Linked DNA regions of Homo sapiens: all the other regions are linked to region 1. Evidence: promoter capture Hi-C in 16 types of primary human blood cells and fetal thymus (Javierre and others, 2016). All regions are on one chromosome and are shown on one strand. The core of a region is centred on a gene start or on the middle of the fragment in contact, and the rest is flanking DNA. Distances in the headings are between cores, read along the strand shown.

The links. Contacts are between HindIII fragments. The CHiCAGO score rates a contact against its expected background, and 5 or more counts as called.
Region 2: a contact is called between a fragment that was not itself captured here and the fragment with the promoter of C9orf72 in region 1, in 2 of 17 cell types (naive CD4 T cells and activated CD4 T cells). The highest score is 8.2, in naive CD4 T cells.
Region 3: a contact is called between a fragment that was not itself captured here and the fragment with the promoter of C9orf72 in region 1, in 7 of 17 cell types (naive CD4 T cells, activated CD4 T cells, naive CD8 T cells and 4 more). The highest score is 21.0, in naive CD4 T cells.
Region 4: the fragment with the promoter of ACO1 here is called in contact with the fragment with the promoter of C9orf72 in region 1 in 5 of 17 cell types (non-activated CD4 T cells, total CD4 T cells, activated CD4 T cells and 2 more); the score reaches 14.3 in non-activated CD4 T cells.

Annotation. Positions count from the first base shown.
Region 1 is chr9:27,571,947-27,576,284 of GRCh38, forward strand. It overlaps C9orf72 (C9orf72-SMCR8 complex subunit), which reads right to left and starts at 1,535. Exons shown (of 11, transcript NM_018325.5): 1 at 1,485-1,535. RefSeq lists enhancers at 929-1,018, 1,617-2,144 and a silencer at 1,529-1,608. The HindIII fragment of the contact is 3,790 bases long and covers 976-4,338 here.
Region 2 is chr9:32,519,285-32,523,616 of GRCh38, forward strand. All of the region lies in intron 1 of RIGI (RNA sensor RIG-I), which reads right to left. Among named protein-coding and RNA genes, the nearest start is that of RIGI, 4.7 kb to the right of the region's middle. The HindIII fragment of the contact is 4,681 bases long and covers 103-4,332 here.
Region 3 is chr9:32,555,749-32,560,747 of GRCh38, forward strand. NDUFB6 (NADH:ubiquinone oxidoreductase subunit B6) reads right to left here. Exons shown (of 4, transcript NM_002493.5): 3 at 3,162-3,206. It also overlaps a transcript of SMIM27 not described here. Among named protein-coding and RNA genes, the nearest start is that of TOPORS, 5.7 kb to the left of the region's middle. The HindIII fragment of the contact is 5,670 bases long and covers 580-4,999 here.
Region 4 is chr9:32,381,746-32,386,229 of GRCh38, forward strand. It overlaps ACO1 (aconitase 1), which reads left to right and starts at 2,898. Exons shown (of 21, transcript NM_002197.3): 1 at 2,898-2,990. RefSeq lists a silencer at 2,699-3,078. The HindIII fragment of the contact is 14,350 bases long and covers 880-4,484 here.

The DNA.
Region 1 (4,338 bases), core at 285-2,784:
CACTATCTGGCCATTTCTCACAGTTCCAAGTTTCTCAGACAATAGGTAGGCTAACCTAGTCCTCCTGGGAACTATCTAATTAACGTAGAATAGAACCCGAGGGCAGACTTGAAAAACAGAAGTCCTCCTTGGTTTACTTTGTTTCTCTGAAAGCAAATTGTGGAGTGCCAACATAGCCAAACAAAATATTTTATCAACTTCATAAGGTGCTTGTAATTTTTTCCTGGAGCAGGTAAATGCTGGCTTAGTGAACAATCTGGAATGTGGTAATTACTCTCGTTCTTGTTTCAGATGTACTATCAGCATGTAGCAGTTTCCAACTGATTCAGGGTTTTCCTAAAGTGGCAGGCCTTGGCAGAGGTGGTGACAACAATGCCCGTGTCAAATGACACCGTATTTCAAGTATTCTGACTCCAGGTTATTAATATCCCCTATATGATAGTCTTGTTTCTGTGATATTCACAGATTATGTTAAAAGTTTCCCAAAGTCTGAGAAAAATCATATCTTAACAGTATCTTTTTTTTTTTTGATCCTTTGTACAAAAGTAGAAGTAATGCCAGACAGATTACGTACCCTTGTTGTGAACAACTGGTGCATGGCAACTGTTTGAATAGAAATTTACCAACTGCCACAACCAGGCAACTACTCTCCCAGAGCCTAACAATCTCGATTGCATCTGAAAGGGCCACCCCTCCTGGGAAAGTGCAGGACCTCCCTCCTGTTTCTGAATACAAAGCCTGGTGGTGTTCAACGCGGCCAGATAGACCCAATGAGCACACGGACATGTAATCTGTGCACTTCTTTAGACAACTGATTACCATCAGTCAAGTGATGCCCAAGTCACAATAGTCACTTCCTTTAAGCAAGTCTGTGTCATCTCGGAGCTGTGAAGCAACCAGGTCATGTCCCACAGAATGGGGAGCACACCGACTTGCATTGCTGCCCTCATATGCAAGTCATCACCACTCTCTAGAAGCTTGGGCTGAAATTGTGCAGGCGTCTCCACACCCCCATCTCATCCCGCATGATCTCCTCGCCGGCAGGGACCGTCTCGGGTTCCTAGCGAACCCCGACTTGGTCCGCAGAAGCCGCGCGCCGCCCACCCTCCGGCCTTCCCCCAGGCGAGGCCTCTCAGTACCCGAGGCTCCCTTTTCTCGAGCCCGCAGCGGCAGCGCTCCCAGCGGGTCCCCGGGAAGGAGACAGCTCGGGTACTGAGGGCGGGAAAGCAAGGAAGAGGCCAGATCCCCATCCCTTGTCCCTGCGCCGCCGCCGCCGCCGCCGCCGCCGGGAAGCCCGGGGCCCGGATGCAGGCAATTCCACCAGTCGCTAGAGGCGAAAGCCCGACACCCAGCTTCGGTCAGAGAAATGAGAGGGAAAGTAAAAATGCGTCGAGCTCTGAGGAGAGCCCCCGCTTCTACCCGCGCCTCTTCCCGGCAGCCGAACCCCAAACAGCCACCCGCCAGGATGCCGCCTCCTCACTCACCCACTCGCCACCGCCTGCGCCTCCGCCGCCGCGGGCGCAGGCACCGCAACCGCAGCCCCGCCCCGGGCCCGCCCCCGGGCCCGCCCCGACCACGCCCCGGCCCCGGCCCCGGCCCCTAGCGCGCGACTCCTGAGTTCCAGAGCTTGCTACAGGCTGCGGTTGTTTCCCTCCTTGTTTTCTTCTGGTTAATCTTTATCAGGTCTTTTCTTGTTCACCCTCAGCGAGTACTGTGAGAGCAAGTAGTGGGGAGAGAGGGTGGGAAAAACAAAAACACACACCTCCTAAACCCACACCTGCTCTTGCTAGACCCCGCCCCCAAAAGAGAAGCAACCGGGCAGCAGGGACGGCTGACACACCAAGCGTCATCTTTTACGTGGGCGGAACTTGTCGCTGTTTGACGCACCTCTCTTTCCTAGCGGGACACCGTAGGTTACGTCTGTCTGTTTTCTATGTGCGATGACGTTTTCTCACGAGGCTAGCGAAATGGGGCGGGGCAACTTGTCCTGTTCTTTTATCTTAAGACCCGCTCTGGAGGAGCGTTGGCGCAATAGCGTGTGCGAACCTTAATAGGGGAGGCTGCTGGATCTGGAGAAAGTGAAGACGATTTCGTGGTTTTGAATGGTTTTGTTTGTGCTTGGTAGGCAGTGGGCGCTCAACACATAATTGGTGGATGAAATTTTGTTTTTACCGTAAGACACTGTTAAGTGCATTCAAAACTCCACTGCAAACCCTGGTAGGGGACAGCTCCGGCACTGCGGGCGGGAATCCCACGGTCCCCTGCAAAGTCATCGCAATTTTGCCTTTACATGTAAGAATTCTCTCAAGCATGATTTTCACACTGGGGAATGTCATTTTTGCTAGTTGCAATATGTGGATGAGTTGTTTTTTTTTAACTTTTGAAAAACGTACCATTCTGTTTGATGTGTAAAAAACACAAAGATTTTTGAAACCTTGCGTCTTTTGGTCTGCAGGTGTATAGATTCCACTTACTACAGATGAGTAGCATTTACACCACTCAGATGTGTAAAAAAACAAAGGTTTTTTAAACTGTGTGCCTTTTGATCTGCAAGTGTGAGATGGCACTTACTACAGTGAGTAGCATTTAATCTTTTTCATCACTAAAAATCACACAGAACGTTTTAATCATTCACCGAGGAAGAAAGGGAGGAATAAATACACAAAATGGCTCTCAACGTCTACACCTTCTGCAGAAACAGACCCTTTTCCTACTGTTCTATGCTTTGTGAAAGTTGATCATACAAATTGGGTCATTCTTTTTATACCCAACTAAAATAGTGGGGGTAGGGGGTAGAAAAGCACTTAGGACAAATGACACTGCTCCCACAGTGTAATTCTCTCCAAGTCCAGCTGCTGCAACTGCCCGTTGTGACCTGAGACCAGTTTTATCTAATAGTTGCTAAAATGACCTGCTGCAGCTCTAATTTTATCTACCACCATCACTCACCAGTTGAAACTCACCAGCTCCTCAGATCCTTAATAGTGCCAATGAATTTTCTCAAAGAGCACTATGTAACATTTCTCTTTTTTAACAAAACCTCCCCCTTTTCTTTGTTGTGTGGATATACCGAAGACCATCTGATCTACATGTATGCCCTAATTGCAATTCTTTCTTCCCAAATAAATCACTTAATTTAGAGATTCATCTCTGTATTTTTATTTTGACTGACAGCTTATAACAAGTAGCTAGCATTTACCAAGTTTCTACACTGAGTTGTACTTCACTTATACGTGGAATTAAAAAACAACTGAATTTATAGAAACAGAGTAGACCCTTGGTTGGGGGGCTTGGGGGGAAAGAAAATTGTAGGGTAGGGTACAAAGTTGCAGTTACGTCTAATACATCTAGAGATTTAATGTACAACATGAGGACTAGCGTTAATAATTGTGTTAGTCCATTCTTACACTGCTATAAAGAAATAACTGAAACTGGGTAATTTATAAAGAAAAGTTTAATGGCTCACAGTTCTGCAGGCTGTACAAGAAGCATGGCTGGATCAGCTTCTGGGCAGGCCATAGGGAACTTAAAATCATGATGGAAGGCATAGGGAGACCCCAGACTTCACATGGCAGGAACTGGGGGAAGAGAGAAATGGGAGGTGCTACATACGTTTAAACAACTAGATCTTGTCAGAACTCACTATATAGTACCAAGAGGGGACTGTACAAAACCATTAGAAGCCACCCCATAATCCACTCACCTCCCACCAGGCCCAACCTCCAACACTGGGGATTACAGTTGAACATGAGATTTGGGTGGGGACAGAGATCCAAACCATGTTATTCCAACTCTGGCCCCTCCCAAATCTAATGTCCTTCTCATATTGCAAAATACTGTCGTGCCTTACCAACAGTTCCCCAAAGTCTTAACTCGATCCAGCATTCATTCAAAAGTCCAAAGTCCCAAGTCTCACCTGAGACGAAGCTAGTCCCTTCTACCTATGAACCTGTAAAATCAAAAACAAGGTAATTGCTTCAAAGATACAATGGGGGTATAGGCATTGGGCAGATACTGCCATTCCGAAAGGGAGAAATCTGCCAAAAGAAAGAGGCTATAGGGCCCCATTGCAAGTCTGAAAGCCAGCCGGGCAGTCATTAAATGTTAAAGCTCTGAAATAATCTCCTTTGACTCACACCCAGGGAACACTGATGCAATGAGTGGGCTCCCAAAACCTTGGGCAGAACCACCCCTGTGGTTTTCCAGGGTTCATCTCCCACAGCTGCTCTCATGGGCTAGCATTGAGTGCTTGCAGCTTTTCCAGGCTGCAGGGTGCAAGTTGTTGGTGGATCTACCATTCTGGGGTCTGGAGGACGGTGGCTGTCTTGTCATAGCTCT
Region 2 (4,332 bases), core at 1,193-3,692, 4.9 Mb after region 1:
AGGCTTTTATTTGGTTCCATGAATAATCATTTTGTTTCCTATGCATTTCCAGTATCTCATCATTTGCTCTACTTATCCAAAGTTCCTAAGCTACCTTTTTCAAGCTTCCAAAAATTGTTGGTGGACACCAGCCTTTAAAATTTGTTTGGTTTTGCTTACCTCTAATGAACTAGAGAGCTATAAGAACTTTAAGATTCCTGGCAAAAAATAATAAAAGGTTTATTCTTCTAAGTTCTGAACAGAAATAGTACATTATTATTGGTTATTTGGAAAAGTAGGTGAGAGAAATGTTTAAGTGGTGTTTATTTCCAAGGTAATTCAATTCAATAAACAATAGCGGTTTCAGATCTTTTCCTTTAATGAGGCAAAACTGCTATATGGGTACAAAGTCTTAATATTCAGAAAAAAATTGGCTTTGTCTTTAAGGAAATTATATTGATTGGGCTTTCTCTCAAACTAATTTAGTTGTGTTTACTATTATTAAGATTAAATAACATTTACTTGGATTAAGTCATAAAAAAAATTATAAGACTTTCTAGTGTTTTTTTTATCCTAAGCCATTTATCACTGATGGGCCTTCACATGTATACTTGAAAACAAAATATGTACATACAAGTGTTATGCCAGTTTGAAGATTCTAGTGGTGTAAGTCACTTAAATCAGTTGTCAGTACTTTATCTAGAAACCAATCTTGGAAATGTATGATGAGGCTCTTTCAAAATAGCTGAAAAGAAATTACTGTGTGCTTATTGTCACTTTGTCCTTGTTTTGTTGTATACTTTTTAAATGAAAGATTTATCTTCATATTGAATTTCCAAAACTGATACTTGCATTTACCATTTTTTTTTTTAATGATGGAAAGAAAAGTTAACTATCTTACTTTGGTAAGTTTGGCACAGGACTTACCACATTTTTGAGGCTCTAGGTCACAGTTTTGTCACTAGAATGCTAGCAGATAAATGCAAGGAGTAACCTAACCACTTTAATACAATGGATTGTATAATGGGTTGAAGTGTTTCAGACAGTAACTACTAGGCACCAAATCCCAGGGTTTTATTTTGTGACATATTAGAGAGAATGATGAGGTTTCCTGCAGTATAAATATGCTATTAAATAATTCTTAGGAAACAATTATTTAGTAATTCAAAGGCCTTTGACTCCTGGATCCAAAAAAGACACCAATACCTGCTAAATCTTGAGCACTGACACCAAATGAAGCCTCGTCTTCAGACTCAGGAGAAGGTGACAATCAAAATGAACTGCTTTCATGAGACATAGGGCTAGAAATTAAAACCATTCAATCCCTCTACGCCCAGGAACTATTGCACAAAAGGTGAGCACGTGAGCTTGTAAGGGCTGATTTTGAGTTATAAAATTAGTTCAGGGTTTTTCTATAAATTAAACATTAACATCAAAAGCACACTGATGCAAGGCCAATGTCTGGGCCCCTGTGTCATAACAGGGTTTTCTTGGAGCATTACTCTACTCTTTAATAGGAAATCGTAAAACGTTATAAAAAGATGGCTGGGTGTGGTGGCTCAGGCTGGGCGTGGTGGCTCAGGCCGGGGCTGGTGACTCAGGCCGGGTGTGGTGGCTCACGCCTGTAATCCCAGCACTTTGGGAGGCCGAGGCAGGCGGATCAGCTGAGGCCACGAGTTGGAGACCAGCCTGGCCAACATGGTGAAACCCCGTCTCTACTAAAAATACAAAAATTAGCCAAGTGTGGTGGCATGGCCTGTAATCCCAGCTACTAGGGAGGTTGAGGCAGGAGAATTGCTTGAACCCAGGAGGCAGAGGTTGCAGTGAGCCAAGATCGCACCACTGTAGCCTGGGCAACAGAGCCAGACACCATCTCAAAAAAAAAAAAAAAAAAAAAAACTTCACAGAAATCCTATCTTATAGTCAAACTGATTAAAATTCGGCTTATAAGGTTTTATTAAAATTAGCTTTAACATTAAAAATATACCATACAAAGGTAAAATTTGATGTTCTCTTTTGAATAAAATGTTTGTATAATATTGACATAAAATATTTGTTTACCTTTTGAGTGAACTGTGGGGGGAAGAAAAGGAAGAGGGAGAGACATTTAGTTGGCCTCATGCTGTCTTTATTAGGCCTTATTGTTGGGAAACTGAGTCGCCTATCAAAGGGTAAATGTGTTTGTTTTATCTTTTTGGCTAAATGAATAACTATTTTGTAGCGACCTGTGATCCTATTTTGTGATATCAAGTGTCTTAAATCTTTGATACTGACAGACTTCCCAACAGCAAATATTTCAAGTTCTAAATTCAGGGGGTTTTTTTTAACCTCAAACTAACTTTTTTGTGTATTAGCTTCCTTGAATTCCAATACAGACAGACATGTTAGGCTTCTTTGGTATATTAGAATTATACAGGCAGCATTATCAAATGTGAGGTGGTATTTAACTTCCTTTGGGTTATATTTGTATAGATGTGCTATTAATATGTGTTGCAGGACTATATGAGATTCCTAAAATTCTGATATGTCTTAATATATGGTGTCAGTAATGATGATTATTATGTTAAATTGTTGTATGCCAACAGAAAAAAAAATTTCCTTGTCAACTGTGTCTTTATGGCTCTCCTAAGACTTTTGTCATTGCAATTGTTGTTTTGCATTGATTCTTTTCAAAAAGTGACTTATAATCAGATATAGTCCAGAGCTTGTTTATTTAGGGGACTTCATGAAAAGGAGTCTTGAATGCAGATTTCTGATAACTTTGGAGACTGTGCCACTGGAATACAGAAAACTTCTAGGACTCTTAATTAGAGTCCCTCTTAATTAAAAGGCTGACATGTTTATAAAGATTACTAACCCAATATGAAACACAGCAGGAGTTGATTGCATGGACTGAACTAATGTGGGACTGAAATAATTTTTTATGGTTTTGTTTGAAAAAGTCTGGAGAATTTTTGTTTTTTGGAATCTGGAGAATTTTTTCTTTTAAGCTCTTCATAACCTTTAAGAATACAGTATATTAAGTAGAGTATACCCTTTTAAACAGAATTTGAGGCATTTTCTCTCTCCCTAATTTCTCCAGAATTTATAAACTATTTGTGAATATTCTTAGTTCATGGCAATGTGTTTTCTTGCATACATTTAATAAAAATCTGTTTTCTTTTATAAGGGGACACAGTTGGAGGAACAAGTTATTTTCCCAGGGCTTTGACTGAAATGGCCTTGTGAGAGGTTCCAGCAAAGCCAATTAGGAGAGCCCATATGGACAATAATTTTTGCTGCACTTTGTGTGGGTAAATAAGCCAAGTATATGTAACTGAGGCTTATTTTGCAGGTAGGCCCATCCAGCTGTGATATGTCTTTGGTGGAAGCGGGGAACAGTAATGATACAGATTGTGTCTCAGAAGAAAACTATAGTATTAGATTAACTTTTGATTCCTGGATGGCCACGTGGTCACCCATAGTATGGAACTGCCCACCACGCCATTCCTCAGCATGAAGCTGCCAGAAAGATTGAGGATCAGATTCCCCATGATCCAGGAATTGATAAATAGAAAGAGGGGGACTGAAACCAACACAATAGTCCCATATACAATTCTTTCGAATAAACATGGAAATTGACCCTCCTGATCTTAAAGCTGAAACTTATATTTGTTTTATCTGAGTTCCTTCCCCAGGAAAAGGACCCCCAGGCCTCTCAAAAGGTATAAAAGAACTGAAACTCATCAGACCATCACATCCAGACAATGAGACACCAGGCCCCTCATTTATCATGATTGCTTCCTTACCCCTCCAGAGTCCATTTTCCAACACCTAGTTATATTTCTTTCCTTCTATCCATACCCCTAATTTCAACGGGTCAGGGAGATGGATTTGAGACTGATCTCCTACCTCCTTTGCTGCAGCTCCCAATTAAAGCCTTGGCAAAACTTGTTGTCTCAGTGATTGGCTTTATGTGCAGCCAGCAAAAGAACCTAGGCTGAATCCCTGGTGTTTCAGTAACAATTGCACCCACTCTCATTGTTTCAGCAAGGATCTCCACATTAATGTCTCCCCAACTGTGGACCCTTTTCCTGAACTCCACACCTGTGCAGCCAACAATCTGATGAACATCTCTTCATGGATGTATCCAAGGCATACAAACCCAGCATACCTAAATCCGAATTTTTCTCCTCCTCCTGCAAACCTGTCCCTCTTCCCACATTTCCTATCTCAGAAACTACCATTTATTCACCCAAGGACCAAAGCCAGAGACCTGGAAGTCATTTCCACCCTGTCCTCACCCTTACCTCCTCACCACAACTCCCCAAGAGACCTATTGATTATACTTTCCAAATGTGTCTTGAATCCATC
Region 3 (4,999 bases), core at 2,165-4,664, 5.0 Mb after region 1:
CAATACCATTTAGATGTGGTCTAGGTAGATAATGAAAAGAACAAACCCCCTGGACAGAGCCAGGAACCAGGAAGAACGATGGATAAAGGTGTTCTTTCAAGAAAACAAAATCAGTGCCCATTCAAGTAATTTCTCACACACGGGTTAGGAGTGAGATTTCAGGATTGCCAAGAACCAGTGACTACTATGCTATCCAAATTCTACCACTGAACAATGGGTGTGGTTGGGGGACAAGGATACAGTTAACTTGTCTTCTTAGTTCACTGATCCTCAGATCAACAGAAGTCATATATAAACCTGACATACTATTTTACATCATCTGGAGATCATGGATTTGGGGCCGGGGTGCAATGATGGAATGGGACTTTGGGATTTCTCCCTAAGGAGAGAGACTAAGTGTGTTATGCATGGGTAAAGAAAGAAGCCAAGAGCTGTTTGGTGACTAGAAAGATGGAATGTAGCAGAAACTCCATGAACAGGGGTCTGGGAAATAGCAAAGAGCACACAGATAATATTTGGGAAGATGACAGTGAGTTTTAGCTAACAGAATTTGAGCAGAAGTGATGTAAGCTACTTCTAAGCTTAGATCCTAAAAATCATCCCCTGAGACATCCTGCCGTATCTTTGTATCACAATCTTGGAACCTCATATTCGATAGGCACGGCTGTAAGATTGAGGAAGATCACCTGATTCACAGTAGTCTGTGATGTCAACAAGAAATAAACCTCTGTTTTGTTAAGCCATTGAGATTTGGAAGTTTGTTATTACTTGTCCTATTCTAAACATATATACAATGAGCATTCTTCAGTTCCTCAAAGGGGTCATGGCACAGAAACAAGAAAGAACCACAGTGGCAAAAAATACAGAAATATGAGAAATGCTACAGGATCCCTGATATGGTCTTCTGAATAGAGCTCTCCTTTTCCTTTGAACAGTAAATGGCAAAATAAATTAACATTTAAATGGAATAAATGGAAGACTAAATAAATATAAATTGCCCAGCTGGAAAAACCAGCAAGATAATTTCCTATTTTGAGACTACCTAGGCTGTAACACACATCAATGTTACACAATAAAACAAAAGGAGAAATCCCCTACTTTTTTTTTTTTTTTTTTTTTTTTTTGAGGCAGGGTGCTCTGTCGCTAAGGCTGGAGTGCAGTGGCGCAATCTTGGCTCACTGCAACCTCTGCCTCCCAGGTTCAGGCAATTCTTGTGCCTCAGCCTCCCCGGTAGCTAGGATTACAGGCGTGCACCACCATGCCCAGCTAATTTTTGTATTTTTATTAATAGTAGAGATGGAGTTTCACCATGTTGGCCAGGCTGGTCTCAAAATCCTGACCTCAGGTGATCCACCTGCCTCTGCCTCCCAAAGTGCTGGCATTACAGGTGTTAGCCACCGCGCCTGGCCCCCACTTTTTTTTTTTTTTTTTCCCGAGACAGAGTCTCACTCTGTGACCCAGGCTGGAGTGCAGTGGCGCAAACTCCGCACACTGCAACTTCTGCCTTCCAGGTTCAAGCAATTCTTGTGCCTCAGCCTCCAGGTAGCTGGGATTACAGGCGTGCACCACCACACCTGGCTAATTTTTGTATTTTTTTTTTAGTACAGATGGTGTTTCACCATGTTGGCCAGGCTGGTCTCGAACCCCTAGCCTCAAGGGATCCACCCACCTCGGCTTCCCATAGTGCTGTAATTACAGGCATGAGCCCCCGATACCCCCTACTTTTTTTTTTCCTTTTTCCTTTTTTTTTGAGATGGAGTTTCACTCATTTCTGAGGCTGGAGTGCAGTGCCACGATCTCAGCTCACTGCAACCTCCGCCTTCCAGTTTCAAGCAATTTTCCTGCCTCAGCATCCTCAGTAGCTGGGATTACAGGTGCCCGCCACCACGCACGGTAATTTTTGTATTTTTAGTAGAGACGGGGTTTCACCATGTTGGCCAGGCTGGTCTCGAAGTTCTGACCTTGTGATCCACCCACCTTGGCCTCCCAAAGTGCTGGGATTACACGCGTGAGCCACCGCGCCTGGCCCCTCCCCCAACTATTTCTTAAACCAGCGTTCCAACTGGGACCGCTGGCCAGTTTTGGTGGCCCTTCCTAAAATTCCCCTGTTGCAACAGATAATCATTACTGTGACTAAGTCATTTGATTAAAGCAAGAATCACACTTTTGTTATTTAAATTGTGTACTTTTGAGTTATGATAGTTCATTATCTGTGACTAGAAATAGACAAGAACATAGTATGTATTCTACTATGCTAAACAATAACCTCACAAACAGCTAGTAAATACCAACTGACTACTGAGTCACCTTTTAATGCTAAAATAACTCATTTCAAATTAGTACTATAGCTCACACATTCATAGTATACATTTTTTTTTTTTGAGACGGAGTCTCGCTCTGTCACCCAGGCTGGAGTGCAGTGGCGCAACCTCGGCTCACTGCAAGCTCCACCTCCCAGGTTCACGCCATTCTCCTGCCTCAGCCTCTCGAGTAGCTGGGACTACAGGCGCCCGCCACCACGCCCAGCTAATTTTTTGTATTTTCAGTAGAGACGGGGTTTCACCGTGTTAGCCAGAATGGTCTCGATCTCCTGACCTCACGATCCACCCATCTTGGCCTCCCAAAGTGCTGGGATTACAGGCATGAGCCACTGTGCCTGGCCCATAGTATAAAATTTAAAACACCCATTAGTGGATATTAAATTCACAGATGGAGAACTTAAGGTCAAATCTTGAAAATGAGGTACAAAGCCATAGGACATGAGAGTTTGGAATTAATAACAGAAATTCAGTTGCTGTCACCATGCATGGATGTTTGCTTAGGCTCATGCCCTAAGCTCTTTACCCAACATGAAACAGGACACAGTGAAAAACTTTTGGTACTTTCAACTCCCTTTAGGAAAATCAAGGTCACAAAACACGTTTTACAGCCAGGTTGAAAATAAATGTGCTCACTTCCCATTTGAACTGTAATTGTTACCTCACGGTATTTCTTCCTGTTTTTTTTTGTTTTGTTTTGTTTTTTACAAGAATACACAAAACAGGGACTTAAACCGAAAGTGAGAAGGAAAGAACATTTTAATCTAATAATTGCTTGGAAAGGGAGGAAAAGGAAAGAGAAAAACAATAAACAAAAGAAAAATCAGAAGTGTTAAGACTTACAGGGAATATTCTGGACTTCTTTTCAACTATGCCATATGGTTTTTCCTGTAATAAAAGTTAACTCTGTGTTAATTATGGTGTTAAGAGTTTCTTCTGAAAATAAGAAATAGGTCATACCCCAAATTTTAACTTAAGCTCCAAACTTTCACAGAACTCCAGATTCACATATCCAACTGTTTACTCAACATCTCTACTTAGCTATCAAACAGGCATCTCAAACTTAACCAGGTCCCACACTTAACTTCTCCCATCCCCAAACTGTTCCTCCCCATGTCCCCCATCTCAGTAAATGACACTCTTATTCCCCCAGTTATGAAAGACAGAAACCTTGACTCCTCAGCAGAGCCTGTTAATTCTATCTTAAGAATATACCCTGAATCCAACTGGTTCTCATCACCAGCCTTGTCCAAGCCTCTATCATATTTTCACCTCAACTACCACAACAGCACCTACTAGCCTCCCTGCTTCCACTTGTGCCCTCCTATGCAAATGAAAAGTCTATTCTCCACACTTCAAGGCAGAGTACACTGATTCTTTTAAGATATGTCACTCTGCTCAAAGTTTCATAATTCTTAGAGAAAAAGCCAGTCTTTTCTCCCTCACTTACTCTACTACAGCCACAGTGGCTCCATTCCTAGGAGTCCAATTCAGTCAAGCCTGCTTGTGCCTCAAGGCCTCTGTACTTCATGATTCCTCTACCTGAAATGCTCTTCTCCTAAATACTGCTTGACCTGTATCTTCATTTCATTTATGTTTGTCTTCAAAGATCACTTCCTCAGAGAGGCCTAATTAAAATAGCAAGCCTTATCATTCTCTAGTTTTTACCCTGCTTAATTTTTCTTCTATAGACTTGTTCTCCTATAACATTAATATACCTCTTTGTTTATATATTTATTACCAGTCTCTAAAACTAAACATTTCATGAGGGGAGGGACTCAATCTGCTCTGTTCACTGCTGTATCCTGGTCTTTAAAACAATGCCTTGCACATAAGAGGTACTACATAAGTAATTGTTGAATACATGTACTTTTTATGCATATACATCTGCACAAGATACCACTGCCCAAAATTTAAAAGATTATTGGCATGATATGAGGCATAGAGAACTGGAACATGAGAGAAACTCAGAATACAATGTGAGCACTTTAAAATGTCTTTACGTGCTAAAAGGCAAAAAGACACTGAAAAGTCATCTGAGAGATGCAGAATTCAATTAGGCAGCAAAGGAGTGAGCTGAAGCAAACTGGTTGCAATCTTATTGAAGATGCAATCCTTTACCTACCAAAATCAAGAGAAAAAGTAAGGTAAGTGAGTGGCTCTGGGACCTCTACTGACACAAAATGTTTAACTAAATATGTCCATCTATGGCTCAGGAAAAATCACCTGGAAGTGTGAACCCTCAGATAAGCAACCACATTACTGTATTAAATTGTCAACCTAGTGACTGCAGTTTGTTAAATTTGCTTCTCTTAGAAATGTCTTTTCGATCCCAGAAAAATGTAGTTAAATTTAGATATGATAAAGTAAGTTAAACCCAGAGTATAAATAAGTGAATGTGTCAACTTTTAAAAGTTCTGAAAACATTGCTACATTCCATACATTCTGTTGATCAGAGTTTGTAATGTGTAAGATAATCTGGCTAACAGAGGTTTTAAAAAATTAGGTTTAGGATTCTAGTTAAAATGCATAATTGATTTGTGATTCTAGGTTGAAAAAAATTACTTCTTAGAATCATAAATTTACCATATAAATACTTCGAAATAAAATTGAACACACAAAATGTATAAATACAATTTAAAATATTTAACAGAATTTAGCTATGTTTGTAAATGGAATTG
Region 4 (4,484 bases), core at 1,648-4,147, 4.8 Mb after region 1:
GCAGCAGAGCCTTCTAGCAGGTAAGGCTGCTAAAACAATACTGTTACTTCAAATGAAGGTCCTTCTGCCTCTGCCCCCCACCAGAGCACAGCTGGGGTGCCTGAGCAGTTACATGCTTGGGTGGCATCCTCTCTGAAGGTCCCTAGAGTATATGCCCTCAGCTGGGCCATTAGCAGAACCTTTTATATCGTGACAGAAATATTTGTTAGGTGGACCCTGTGAGAGCGTAGTAATATGCCATGGCAATATACCCCTTAAACATTTAGCTTTCTCAGCAGATCATGAAATACAAATTCGGGATGCAGGATTAGGATGAAAAAGAAACTAAATGGATAGGAGGGGAGAGACAGATGGTTAGAGAAGACACTAAATTCCCATTTTAGATGTGATGAATGACAGGCACTGATATGGTTTGTAATCCCCACCTGTGGAGGGAAGGAGGTGATTGGATCATGGGGATGATTTTTATTATTAGCTATACTGAGAGAAACTGTAAGCAGCTGCCCAGAGGATTCTTGTTCCCTGGGAAGGCAGCTCAGGGATCAGGCCCTTAGGCAGTAATTAAGAGAGCACGAAAATTAAACGTATAGCAGGTGTGGTGGGAAGAGGGCATCAGGGGAGAGCCGTTGGATATTTACCGGGAGCCAAGATGAGGCTAAGACCTGCCTCTCCTTGTTATGAATTTAACTCTTTTTTTCTTAAAGAGGAACAAAACGTTTATTTCAAATTTTCTCTGGTATGAAGACATATATTCAGTGAAAAATTTAGGGATTCTAAGGTCCCCTCAAAGCATTCAGGAGGACCACTGTGCATTCAGAGGACACTCTCTTGCCTGCTGCCAGGTAAGACATACCTGCTTCCCCTTCTGCCATAATTGTAAGCTTCCTGAAGCCTCCCCAGCATGCAGAACTGTGAGCCAATTAAACCTCCTTCCCTATGAATTACCCAGTCTCAGGGTTCTTTACAGCAGCGTGAGAACGGTCTAATACAGACACCTTTGGAATATCCAGGTGGGGTTGCCACATATGGCTGCAAATCAAGAGTGTGAAGGTCAGAAAGTTAACTAAGACCAATGACAGAGACATAGCAGGCTTCAGCTAGAAGTGGCAGGCAGTCTGCATACTGAGAAAATAGATGAAGAAAAACTCAGCAAATGGAGAAACATATAAAGCAAGAGGAGAGAGTGTAGGGAAAGACCTTAAAAAAGAGGGACAAAAGAGGGAAGAGGTGACTCCTAAGAGCGGAGGGCTGAAAAGCCAAAAGGAGGTTAACATTTCTAGGAAAACGAATCGCCAGTGTCAAATACCACAGAGTAGTGAGTAAGGACAGGAACAGAGGACAGGCCCTGGGATTCACGATCTGCACGTCACTGGTGACAACGTCCAAGAGCAACAGACTGGGGGGATGTGGAACTATTTCCTTCACGGTTTTGACCAGCGTGCTTACTAATAAATCTCAATTCCCTTCATAGCTCTGATTTGATTGTTTTCTGCGAAGGATTCTCAGTTACACGGATGTTATCATTGAACATTAGATACTTTGCTTTCCGAATGGCTGCCTCATTAAGAATCGCAATTTAGCTGGATGTGTCCTCATCGGACTTCCCCAGCCTTCTACTCACTCTCACCTTGCCCCTACTCTCCCTACCTCCCAAGGGGACTGGAGCATGATTTTTCAGGGATTGTGGTGCACCTCTGCCATATGGTGGACATTCAAAGAAAATTTAATTACTAATGTGAATGGAAAGGATTTAGGAAGTGGGTGGGAAAACAGTCTCCTCTCATATTGGAAATACAGTTACTTCCCCTTTCAAAATAAATATAAGTATTTATATTTCAAAGTTAAATATAACTAGACGATAGTTGTACCCTATAGTGCAGTATGACAGGGAAGGTGTAGGCTTTGGTGTCAAACCAACCTAAGGACTGAGTCTCAGCTGTTGCGCATTGCACACCTGCAAAGACGGGTAATATTCTTTACTTGTAAGGTGGTTGGAAGAGCTGAACTGAATAACGTGGAAAGAGTCGATCACAGGGCTTTGTGCAGAATAGGAGGGCAGTATAAAGTAGCAGGGGGGCTATTAGTACTGGCTATTGTTTACTCATCCTATAAGCTGCTTATTCAGAAAACTACAGTAACTTTCCAAATAATTTGGGCAGGAAAACCTCACCACCTTTCATCTAGAAAGATCTAATCACTTCTTTGAACGCCATTCACCCAAGAGGGCACAACTCCTACCAACATGAAAAGCAGATCTTGTGAAAGCCCACTTGCTGCCATCTCCCAGCCATTTCTCCGACTTCAGACCGGTGAACATCGTGCATTAGAAAGTGTTGTTACATGTCCAAGGAAATCTACATATAGAACTTTTGCCACGGAAATGCTGAAGTCCTATTCTGACAGCGTGACTCCGATGTCCACTTGGCAGGCTTTGCGCAAAGAATTAAGGCGAGGGTGGAGAGGGTGGGTAGGGTGGGGACGGACAAAGTGAGAAGGGAGGCGGGCCAAGTGACCACACGTACATGAAGCCTCTCCAGTTATGGCCAAATCATTTTTTAAAAATAATTCCATTTCTTCCCCACCCTTTGGTCACTTCCTAACGCCGGCTGGGGAGTCACATGCTAAGCTCCAAAGTGAGCAACAGACACCCTCGTCCCAGGTCCCATGCTGGCAGAAGCGGACCCGGGCCGAGGGATCAGCCCTCCCACTTCCAGCGGAGGAGCCCTTCGCAACCCTAGCCTCCAGCCCGGGGCGAAGTCCTCCAGGCCCGCGGGGGCGCCCGCAGGCTCCGCCCCTTCTTCGGCTAGCTGCCCGTCCGTCCCGCCCCTGCTCCGCCCTTCCCGCCCCTGCTCCGCCCATCGCGCGGCGGCCCCGGGGGCGAGAGGGGGCGGAGCGTGGAGGCGGCAGCTGGAACCGCGCAGCGCACGGGAACGCGTCCCGCTGCTTGGGTCAGGTTCGCCGGTCGCGGGAGCCCCGCCGTGCAGTCGGAGGTGAGTACCGACGCGGCCCGACCCACGTCCCCAGGCGGGAGCGCCGTCCACCCTGTATCCCTCGAGAGTCGGTGCGGGCCTTTACCGAGGTGCCCGAGGCAGTGGCGGCACGGGGGACACGGAGGCGAGCTTGGGGAGGCTGAGAGGAGAATCGGGGACGTGTTTCTGGCGACTGACGTCTCCACCCTGTCCCCAGTCTATGTCATGCCGGGGAGAGAAACCAGGGATTGGAAGTGGCTTTCCTAGACCCTTCTTAGCCTTGGCTGTGCGTGCTGTCCTGAAAGTCCTTGCCTAGGGTGTGCGGCCAGTCCTGGGAGTCCTAACCCCGAGGGTGTGAGGCCCGCACTGGGAGTCCTCGCCCAGGCCCGGCTGGCTGGATAGGGAAACCCTTGCTAAAGTTGTGCGGGCAGATCCGGGAATCCACTCCAAGGGGTAAAGGGAAAATGGGATGAGGGGGAAGAGACCCTTCGTGGGAGGCTTGAACACAGAGCCCACCATGATAGATTCAGAGATCTAGAAAGGAGCTTGGGCTGCAGTTATGACCAAGTCATTTTTTTCTAGATTCAGCTAGCACATCATAATGGCATCTTCCTTCTTGCAACACATGTAACTCTCTTCCCTGGGGGACAACCTCTAGGACAGAAGTCCCCAAACTTTTCTGGTACTCAGTACTCCTTTACACTCTTAAAAATTAGTATCTTAAGGAGCTTTTATGTGTGTTATATCTATCCATATTTATAATATGTAAGTAAGACTGAGAAATTTGTACTATAATAATTCATTTAAAAAGAATAGTGAACTAATTATATCTTAACATTGCCTATTTTTATGAAAAAGAACTATATTTCCCAAAACAGAAAATGATTGAGAAGAGTGGCATTGTTTTACATTTTTGCAAATCTCTTTGATGTCAAGCGTAATTGAAGACAGCTGGATTCTGATAGCTGCTTCTGCAGTCTGTTGCAATATCACATATCATGTAGCCTCTTGAGACCTCCACTGTATACTCCTGAAAATGTGTGAATGAAAAAAAGCAAGTAACATTTTATTACTAGGAAAATGGTTTTGACTTTGGAGATCCCTAGGAGTTCTCTGCACCACACTTTGAGGATGCTGGTGTAGGAAATGCTTCAGAGGCTTCATTCATTGGGCCTGCTTCTTGTTTGTGATCCTTCCTCTGATTGGGAACACACACCACCTCATGCCATGGACAGTATTAACCTCTGGTATCTGGAACCAAGTTTGATCTCACTTTGGAAACCATGTACTAGGTCCCCACGTGAGGCTGTGATGAACCTTGCCAGCCTCCTGAAAAGTCAGCAAGGCTTCGCACATGCCTTTGGTTGTCTCTGTGCTTGCAGAGCTGACCTGTCTGTGCATCAGGATTACAACAGTGATGTGGCAAACAGGACCTGTAGGCTCACAAAAGTGCCAGTGGGGAGACCATGCCAAGTGTGTAGGGGTTCCTGTGAGAGTTACCAAGTAGTCAGGAAG